Linked DNA regions of Homo sapiens: region 2 is linked to region 1. Evidence: promoter capture Hi-C in human tissues and cell types (Jung and others, 2019). All regions are on one chromosome and are shown on one strand. The core of a region is centred on a gene start or on the middle of the fragment in contact, and the rest is flanking DNA. Distances in the headings are between cores, read along the strand shown. Region 1 holds the start of CPLX4 (complexin 4). Region 2 has its middle 62 kb from the start of LMAN1.

Region 1 (4,942 bases), core at 1,251-3,750:
TATAATTGAGAAAATGGCGGGAGAAACAGACTATTGTTTTATTTCCTTTCCAGATAGTCTATTTATGTTTAGACCTCTTTCAGTACTAATGTTACCAGTGGTGCGTGCGCACACACACACACACACATTGAACACAGAAAGAAAATAAAAATGAATGTGCATTATTAAATAGAGTGCATTGCTAAATAGTTTTTTATTTATAATTCATATAGTCTCCCCACTTCCTACAATGATGAGGATGGGTTTAGGAGGCTTTCATTTGCTAACATTGATTTTAATTATTATATATACTAAACTGTTTGTAGCTCTCTCTGCGTTTATCTTGTGATGAATTATTTTTAATGCCTACTACATATTGCATTCTAGGTGGTGAAATTCTTGAAAACTCAAACAATGGACTGAAAGTCATCCCTCTTTATCATAGGGAAGCCAAATGCTCCATTGTCCTGACACTATTTCTTACATTGAGTGACTACATAAATATATAATATTCTCACACACATATGCAAAAAGCTGAGTAGCTGACAACTCAGTCTGCTGATTGACTGTATGATTTGGCCATTTTGAGCTTTGATCTGTCCAGATATAAAATTAAGGAAAACTAGGACATTAGTTAATCAAATAGATGCCTTATCTGCAATCGGATCTGCTGCTTGAACATATTAGGTGATATTTTGCATGCTCACAACTGTAGTCTACATTTCTGTTTTCATTAGCCTACTTGATCTGAGAATGTTTGATGCTGATTTTTGTCTTCTATCCTTCATTACACAGTACTTATTTTGCTTTTAAGCTTTTTGTTCTTTTGCATGCCATAGGTAAAATCAGCCAATATTCAAGGAATGCTGCTTCTTTTGCCCAAGTCTTAGCACCATCATTTTTGCTAGTTGCATTGACTGTTTTTTAAAAACCAACTTTAAGTTACTGCAGAACCAAGCATAATGTATTCTAGGTAGTCTATAAGCCATGATTTCTTTCAGAAAAATACAATAGACAAGGTTTCCACTAAACGTAGTCTTTGTACTTTCTTTGTTTCCTCCAGGTCATTAACCTTTTCACCTATAATCATCTTAGCGATAGGATTTAGGCAACTATTATGTAATTGATCATTAGCAAAAGAGTCCTGGTGGCAAAAAAGAAATACTTTTCTTTTGAAACATATGATAAACATTTAACCTCTAGATTGATGTTTCATTTCTTAACTGATTATTAAAAGAATCTTAATTCTACCTTAAACATTTAAAAATTACACAGAGATTACATTTATTTCAGAATCAGTCTTCAAGTGGTGAAAAGTTGTTGGTGATATTCACATTCTATAATACCCAATTAAATGTTGCTTATATTTTATATTTTATTTTTGTTATATTTTATATAGCCAAGAAAATGCCTTTATTTTTTGGAGGAAGGTGGCTGAAGTATTTGGGGGTGAAGTACATGACATCTGTAATTTACTTTAAAAGCTATTATCTACCATCTATCTTTTTAATCTTTAAGCAAATGTAGCAAACTGTAAGCTGTTGATTTTATGTCATAGGTATATGTGGGTATTTGTCCTACTATTCTACTTTTCTGTATGTTTAGAATTTCCATATTAAACAGTCCACAAATCCATTCATAGTCTTTGATAAGCCAAGTCTTATGACATAATTGTCATGTTATGCTTCCTGGGTTTTTTTTTTTTTTCTCACATGCAAGATCAAAGAAGCTGCCCTCTATGTTATTTTAGGCCCTTTTCTAGGTATAAGGTCTGAATTCTTACAATTTGAAGACTTTCTACGTGCTAAGAGGGTGAAGTTTAGAAAGAATGTAAAGATAGTTAAACCTACCACTTTTCATCTAAATAATTAAATTGAGGTCAATCAAAACATGCCTAGACCAGAAAGTGTTAAGCTGCTTTAAGAACAACATATAGATTCATTTATTATTGTTCATTTCCATTCATACATGTAGAACATAGAACATAGTAGCTGCTGATGTTAGGGAACCGTTTACTTTAGAAGAACAACCTTTCCTTGGGTTAGAGGTAAACGGCAAAAGGAAAGGCATCTTAAAAAGCAAAGAGAAATAAACTGGAGAACTGAAGAAGGTATGGCCAGAATGAATTTCCTTTGCTTTTTAAGGGAAATGAAATAGCATGTACTCACTTCTCCTCAATCATTTGCTTTTGATACTCCTCATACTCCTCTCTAGTCATCCCTTGAGCTGCTGCAGGATCAGATGCACCTCCTTCTTCTTTATTTTCTTCAGACCCACCACCAAATCCTAAATTCTTTACCTGGTTACTTATCATACTTTTCATAAGGAAAGCCATTTTCTCTGCCCCAGAAAAATAAAACCAAAATTCAGACAAAAGCTGAAAAAAAAAATCCAAACAAACCCAAGAGAAAACCTCCAAATATTCTCAATGACAGCAATACATTTAAGAGCAAAGGACTTTGCACAACCTCATCTATTCAAGGGCATACTGATAGAGAAGAGTGGTTTGTCGGCCGTAAGCTGGATTAAAGTGGTGAACTCCTTAGTATATAGAGGCAGATGGTTCAGATTACCGAAGCATACAATCAGAGGCAACTGCCTACCTTCTGAATTAATACACTCAGCTAATTTCACAGGAAAAAGAAATCCCCACATCATCTACCCCTTTCTAAATTTTTAATTATAAGCACAGCAGGGCTTCATCAAGAGTCCTGTTTCAATTAAATTAATCAGAGCTGACTGATTATATAGCTGTTGTGGAATTTCCAAATTCCAGCCCTTGAGCAAAACATCCTGTTGAAAAACTGAGTCCAATGAGACTCAAAACCCAGAATGCTTCATTAAGCAAAAATAATCCTTTCGATCCATCATTTTATCTCATTGGACTTTAAGTACTATGCAAGGATTTGCTTTTTAGTTTGCTTGAATTCGGTTTGCTTCAATAGTTACTGTGTCCCGCACATAAATACACAACTGACAAATGCAAAGACCCAGACAGCAGGTCCTTGGTTTACATCTGGAAGATTATCTTAGCCTTCTCCTGCATGGAAATATTACTTGTCTATATGGAAATGATGTGCTTGACACTTCAAGGCTCTGATCCAGAAGGTAAGACCATTATGTGAGTCAAATCATCAATATGTAAGGGGTCACCTTTTTTCTCTTGCATAAAGAGTGCACCTCCTGGGTGCTCTATTTAAGCTCACTGGTGTACTTGGATGAAACTGACAATGTTTTGTATCCCACCAGATTCTCTATGGCTGTGGTTTTCTTCAGGTCAAGGGAAGAGTTGAGTATGGCTAAGACTTCAATCTACACTAGTATCTTTCTAATTAAAGCCTGCCAAAGAGGGTGGGGTGGGAAGGAAGAGATGTAATCCATTGTTATTTTATCTGAAGGCATGAGTCCTCTCAGAAACCAGGTGATTATCTCTCTGATCATATAGAATTACATAATCTGGATTCTTGCCTAAAATGCTTGCTTTATATATTTTATCGTCTGCTTTCCCTTTTAGTAATCTATTTTAAAATGCTGCTTAAATGGTCTCAATATGAAAGGCTAAAAAAGATAATTTAGGGTGAAATATAAGCTGTACTCAGGGCTTCGAGGAGAATGCCCATCAATATTGAGTTCCACTTTCTCTTTTAGATGGGTTGCTTGGAACTTAACACGTTCATACCATTATCTCTAAATTACCATTTATAATAAACTACATTGCAGTCCACTGAGGAATGTTACTAATTAATGTTGTCTCATAGAACTTTTCAAACCATAAAATAAAAGCCACAGCCTTGTGTTTCTGTCTGTTCGGTCTACATTTTATTATAAGTAATTATTTAGATTTATTATAAAATCTATTCTAAAAATTCCATTGTATGAGGAATTAGGAAATATTAATGGTGAGGGTGTCAATTCTAAACTCCAGCACCCATGTGTAAAGGAGTTTCTCCCTGTCCCGTCCTTTTCTGAATGTATGTTTGTGTGGAGGGGGTTAGGAAGAGGGGGTGTCATGCATTATGGGGACTCTTCGGTGGTAGCTTCAGCAGGGTCGCCGTGGAAGGTCTCCTGAGAGTGCTTTATGAAATCAAATATCTTATTATTTCCTCAACAGGTAATTCCATTGAGAATGAGGTCACGACTTAAAAAACTTTTTACTCCTTGATTTATTACAATGACCTTTGCCCTTGGACATCCAGGAACTACTAGCTGGTGTGTAGGATCTTTTTTTTTGGAGACAGCCTCACTGTGTTGCCCAGGCTGTAGTGCAGTGGCAGGATCTCAGCTCTCTGCAACCTCCGCCTCCTGGGTTCAAGCGAGTCTCCTGCCTTAGTCTCCCGAGTACCTAGGATTACAGGCATGCGCCACCATGCCCGGCTAAGCTTTTGTATTTTTGGTAGAGACAGGGTTTTGCCATATTGGCCAGGCTGGTCTTGAACTCCTGACCTCAAGTGATCTGCCTGCCTCAGTTTCTCAAAGTGGTGGGATTATAAGTGTGAGCCACCAAGCCTGGCTGTAGAATCTTGTAGAAATGGTGGTAGAATCTTCCGTTCCTTCAGAAAGGGGAAATGAATGCCCTGGATTCATGAATGGGACCTCTAGGTGTCCCCATCCCATGGCTCCCTACTGTCCTTGCATAGAATCCCCACTCCTTGCTGCAAGATTGCCCACTGCCTAGCTGCCAGCCTCTTCAGCCACACTCCCTTTGCTCATTCTAATCACATTCATGTCCTTGTTGGCCCTTAAACCAAGATTGCTCCCACCTATGTCCTTGTGGAACCTCCTGGCCTGTATTGCTCTTCCACATCTCTAGGTGGCTCACCCTTGCTTAATTCAGGTTTCTGTTCTCATTCACCTTCTTAGAGGGACTTCCCTGACCATCCTAAGATACCCTGCCTCCACTACCCCACCTTTTAATCCTCTATCCTATTCTATTTTTCTTCATAGTACTGCACTCTACCTGAAA
Region 2 (4,942 bases), core at 1,561-4,060, 100 kb after region 1:
AATCAGAATTAGATAAAACTGGCTAAAACAACCATTTTCCATTTTTCCCTCCCACACCTCTCTCCACCTGCCCCTGAATGAGTCATCTCAATCAAGAATAATTATGGAGATAATTTGGACATCCCCTATGCCAACAGCGTAATTTGATTATTGGCCCAAGGTCAAAGAATTGTGACTCTGCAAACAAATCCACACATGCATGTGTTTCTCCCTCCCATTTTGAAACCAAATGACCCCAACATTTGGTTTGCTATGAACATCTTTCACTTTTCACTCTCCCATGGCATTTGAAGGAAATCTTTTGCCTGTGTCTGGATTTCCTCACATGCATTCCCTGAGGAATTTCATTAGTTGTGAAATACCAGAATGTTTACAGCAGAGACATTTTTCTTCTGAGAATGGAGTTCAGAGTTCTGACGGATGGTGGTAACGACAATAGGATGCTGTATCTCAAAAGGATAAAATAACGTGTCTAAAATTTCAGATCCACAGCTTTGTGGGCACTTGCATTGAACCCATGCAAACTTAAAAGATAAGAAAAGATACACTTCCATGTAAAAATAAAAATAATTGAAGTAAAACCCCAAGTCACTATAATGTAGACTTGAAAGTCCTAGTTTAAAAAAATGCATCTCATCCCTAACTGATTTACTGAACAGTGTAAATGAGTTGGGCATCAAAACCGGATTTAACTTTTGATGAATTCACCCTCTCTTTTTTGGCTGTGGCTCCCTTCATGAAATCCTGCCCAAATTTTAACTTTCTAGGCACCTTTGAGATTTAAGACCAAGACCTGTTCATTATTAGAACCTGAGCCTTGAACTTGATTTAAAGCTTGGCTCTTCCCTGCTCCCAACCCCAGGGGGGCTGGGGCTGTGGGCCTGGCTGTTTGGAAGGAAGCAAAGGTCTGGTTCTGACACTCCTCTACCTCCTGCTTAACTGCCTCTGCTAATTCAAGCTTTTAGAGGGATGGCAAGAGGCTGGAAGAAAAGGGCCAGCTTTGGTGGCTGTGCACACATCAGAGTAAGGAACGGTCCCTGGCATTGGGTCCCTGCCTCTCCTTTCCCCTCTGTGTTCCTTCATTTTCACACATCAGGGAGTAGATGGTTGCCTCACCTTCCTCTCAGGCACAATATCCACAATCCCTTGAAGCCCTGTGAAAGAGGCTACTCCCACCAGGCCTCTGACTTCATCGGAACAAGTGTTATCTCTATGAATAAGTATGTCCCGTCTTTTCAGGGCACACATGCCAAGCACGCCTTTCTCCTTCCCCATGGTCATGGGGAGGTCTAGTGAAGAGGAGACTCTTGGATCATCCTCCCAAGAATGCTTGTGGCAGGTCTTGCTTCAGGGGCAAACAACATAGACCTGGCACACATCCAGCCAGAGAACATGCTGCCCTCTTACATTATTAAGGCACCCCAAGTTGTTATGAGTAAACTTTTGGAGCCCCCTCTCACTTGGCTTTAGGGATGGGTACCTCTCCCCTAGCCACACTCTAAGTAGGGACAGACTTGTCATCAAGAATACTGTATTTTCTGTAAGGCTGTCTACATCTCCCTCAACCCGGTCCTCTTCTCCCACAGCTGGGGTCAGGTGGGAGAGGCACAGTTCTGAACAGGAGCTGCTCACTAAGCTCCCTGGGGAGGTGGCAGCTCTCAAACTATTTGATGATGCTCACTTAAGAACATGGGGATGCTGGCTGGGCACAGTGGCTCACGCCTGTAATCCCAGCACTTTGGGAGGCCGAAGTGGGTGGATCATGAGGTCAGGAGATTGATACCATCCTGAACAAAATGGTGAAACCCAGTCTCTACTAAAATACAAAAACTTAGCTGGGTGTGGTGGCGCACACCTGTATTCCCAGCTACTCAGGAGGCTAAGGCAGGGGAATCGCTTGAACGGGAGACGGAGGTTTCAGTGAGCCAAGATCGTGCCACTGCACTCCAGCCTAGTGACAGAGCAAGACTCCGTCTCAAAAAGAAAAAAAAAAAAGAACATGGGGATGCCTAGTGCATTTTGCCCTCAGCTTTGAGTCTAAAACACAATTTTGGTTCAATAGGAAAATTCCACTTCCTGGGCAGGACTTGCAGGTTGTGAAACCCACATATCTACGCTCATAGATACTGAGCGTAGAGGAGGGAATAGGAGACCTATTAGAGGCTGTCTCTTATTGGCCAGTATGCAAAGTCACTTGCTTTTCCTTAAGAAGGGTAAAAACCAGAATAGGGGGTATCAAGGATGAAGAATCCAGTTGCAAATTGTAAAATAAAGATTGCTCAGCAAACTTCTGTAAGGAAAAAGAAATAAAAAGGAGATGGGGCTTCAGTATGTACCAGTACAGATCTGTGACTTCATTCACTAGATTATAATCTATGTATAAATAAATGTACAATCCCATTAAGACAGGGACAAGTGCTGACCATAGTATATGAGAGCATTCAATACATATCTGTTAAATAACTAAGTGAATGGAAGTAACTGAGGGCCACTGGTGGCTGTATCTTTAGCAACCGCTTGCTTTCTGTTAACATCTTCTGAGCACTTAATATGCACCAAGTACTGCTGTAGGTCTCCAGCAACTATGAAGATAGTTAACTCTTGTCCTTAAGTAGTTTGTGACTAAGGGTAGGAGACAGATTGGCACAACTGCCTACAAATAAAACCTCCAGATTCCATTTGGGAGAAAGCAAGGACCCTGTCTTTGAAGTCAGAAAGGAGTGGGAAATGGGGAAGCCCCTGGTACAGCTAGCTCCTACCTGGACACAGCCCTGATCCAAACTGTTCCAAATGAGGTGGAATTCACGTCTTCATGTTCCCTAGTATGATGCGAGGGTCACCCAGCTAGTAATGGAAGTGACTCAAAAACCATGAAATTCACAATGATGGTGGTGGAGAGACCATTCATTGTATTACAGGAGAAGGTGCTTTTGAGAGAACAAAGCTCCTGGGTTGTTTCAGCTTATTTTACAATTCCACCCTCTTCCCTGGAATCTAGCTATGCCCAAGTTTAGCTCTGAGATTAATTCTATCTTCCTCCTCATTATATTTCACATATTCCCTCAAAATTGCTTTGTTTGGGCCTTAATATGGAGTCAAGTGACTAACTTCTCCATGTACCTGCTGGTTAATGGATGAACCTACTCTTGTAACTGAAAGCTGTAACCTGAGTGAATGGTACCTAAGCAGTGGAATGCGTGGTGAGAATTTCAGACTTGAGGCAGACACTGGAAGGATTGTCAATTGCAACAAGTTTCCTCAGGCCCCTTCCATGCAGCCAGGATCCCTCACACCATCCTTTTATCCCCGAGGGACCCCAGAGCAAATTTCTCCTGAGAATAGTACTCAGATTTCTTGGCCTCAGTGGGGACTTCTGGAATCAAGTAAAAGGCATGAAAGAAACTGAAGTGCCTGAGGGAGGGATGCCTGTGTACCTCTTTGCAAGATAAGTGTGTGTGTGTGGGGTGAGGGTAGTATAGCAGCAGCCCCCAGTACCATCTGACCACAGATAAGCTACCAAGGTGAAACTGTGAGTCCAGTAATCACGGGATTAGCAGAGGAAGGCTTAGATGCAATGAAGTTGCTGATTACTCCACAAAGACTTAGCAAGAAAAGTTCTCTACACAGATCACAGATTTTATCCTTGGTAGAAAGGTGCCTATGTAGCTGGAAAAGCCAATAAATACCTGGGGGCTAACTTCATTTATTTGGAACACACATAATCTCAGCAACCCAAAGACCTTCATCCCACTTCATGTGAATATTGACATGCAAAGTCTGTGTCAATCTGGCTGGTAGTATTGGATCTCAGTGGTCAATAGCCACATAGAATAAGCCCTGAAGGAAAAATGTATTTGGCTGGTATTCTTGGAAGGCTCTTTTGAAGGGACCACTTTTTGAAATGTTTTCCAGCTGTTATTTCCTTTCTGAATAATCTGAGCCTAATTCGATTTGTGCACCTTTTTCTTTTCCAGAAGGCAAATTACCCGCCTATGAGTAGTTGTGTATATGATCTGCTGGTTTTGGCTGAGAGTTTTACAGAACTGTAAATAAATGACCCTGTCAGTACATGGGAGAAGTGTTCCTTTCACATTACATGGTCCTGCAATTACATGGTATGATGGCAGTTAGTAAGATTCTGTGTATCATCTCCAGAGCCCTGGGGTAAAAAGGTCTATAGCCATGTCCAAGATGGGTTGGGGCAGATCCAGCAGATTACGTTACTGTGAGGGGGTGGTGGGGAACACAGCCAAGAACGTCCATGGGTTACATTTTTTTTAAACCCAACAAAACTTGACTTTGGAAACTGTTCTGTCCACATACATCACAAAAACTATTTGTAAAGCAAAAAATGACTATAGATACAACTCTGCCTCTGATTTAATCATTTTTCCCACCCAGCTCTCATCCCCAGTGTGGTTGTGATGCTACAGACAGAAGAGGATAAGAAGCCACAGAAAACAGGCTGGAGGAGAAGTGCGGATTCAGCACATAAGTTGTCACTTCGCCAGAATCGATGAGAATCAGGAGTCCCTGAATCGCCTGGGGATGCTGGTGAAAGCGACACCATGCGGGAACAGGTGAATGAAGCTTACCTGGGTCAACGTGCTGCATGGACGTCATTTCTGCCCTCCCACCTGGGGAACCAGCCTCCAAAATATTAGCAACTTGAGGCAAGGCCAGGGCCCATGCTGGGGAGGGAGTCACCTTCCCAGTCTCCCTACCCAGAATCTCCCTCCAGACATCTTCTTCCCCTGTAGCAGCTATCAACTTGTTGCCTGCTAACATGTTAATGGAGAGGTAAGGCTTAAGATGTGCCATTTCCCAGGGAAACTATGTTTTAAATCATCAAAGACATAGGGATTAAATAATTGAGACATAATAGCCATATGTGAATTCCTGATGCTTGTCAGAGTTCTAAATTAATCTAATTTTCTCCTGC

Evidence for each region. Contacts are between HindIII fragments. The study calls those that stand out against the background at their distance.
Region 2: a contact is called between a fragment that was not itself captured here and the fragment with the promoter of CPLX4 in region 1, in 2 of the 25 tissues and cell types used here (IMR-90 fibroblasts and neural progenitor cells).

What each region holds. Positions count from the first base shown.
Region 1 is chr18:59,316,149-59,321,090 of GRCh38, forward strand. It overlaps CPLX4 (complexin 4), which reads right to left and starts at 2,501. Exons shown (of 3, transcript NM_181654.4): 1 at 2,148-2,501. The coding sequence starts at 2,314. The HindIII fragment of the contact is 6,963 bases long and covers 150-4,942 here.
Region 2 is chr18:59,419,271-59,424,212 of GRCh38, forward strand. No RefSeq gene overlaps it. Among named protein-coding and RNA genes, the nearest start is that of LMAN1, 62 kb to the left of the region's middle. The HindIII fragment of the contact is 4,792 bases long and covers 415-4,942 here.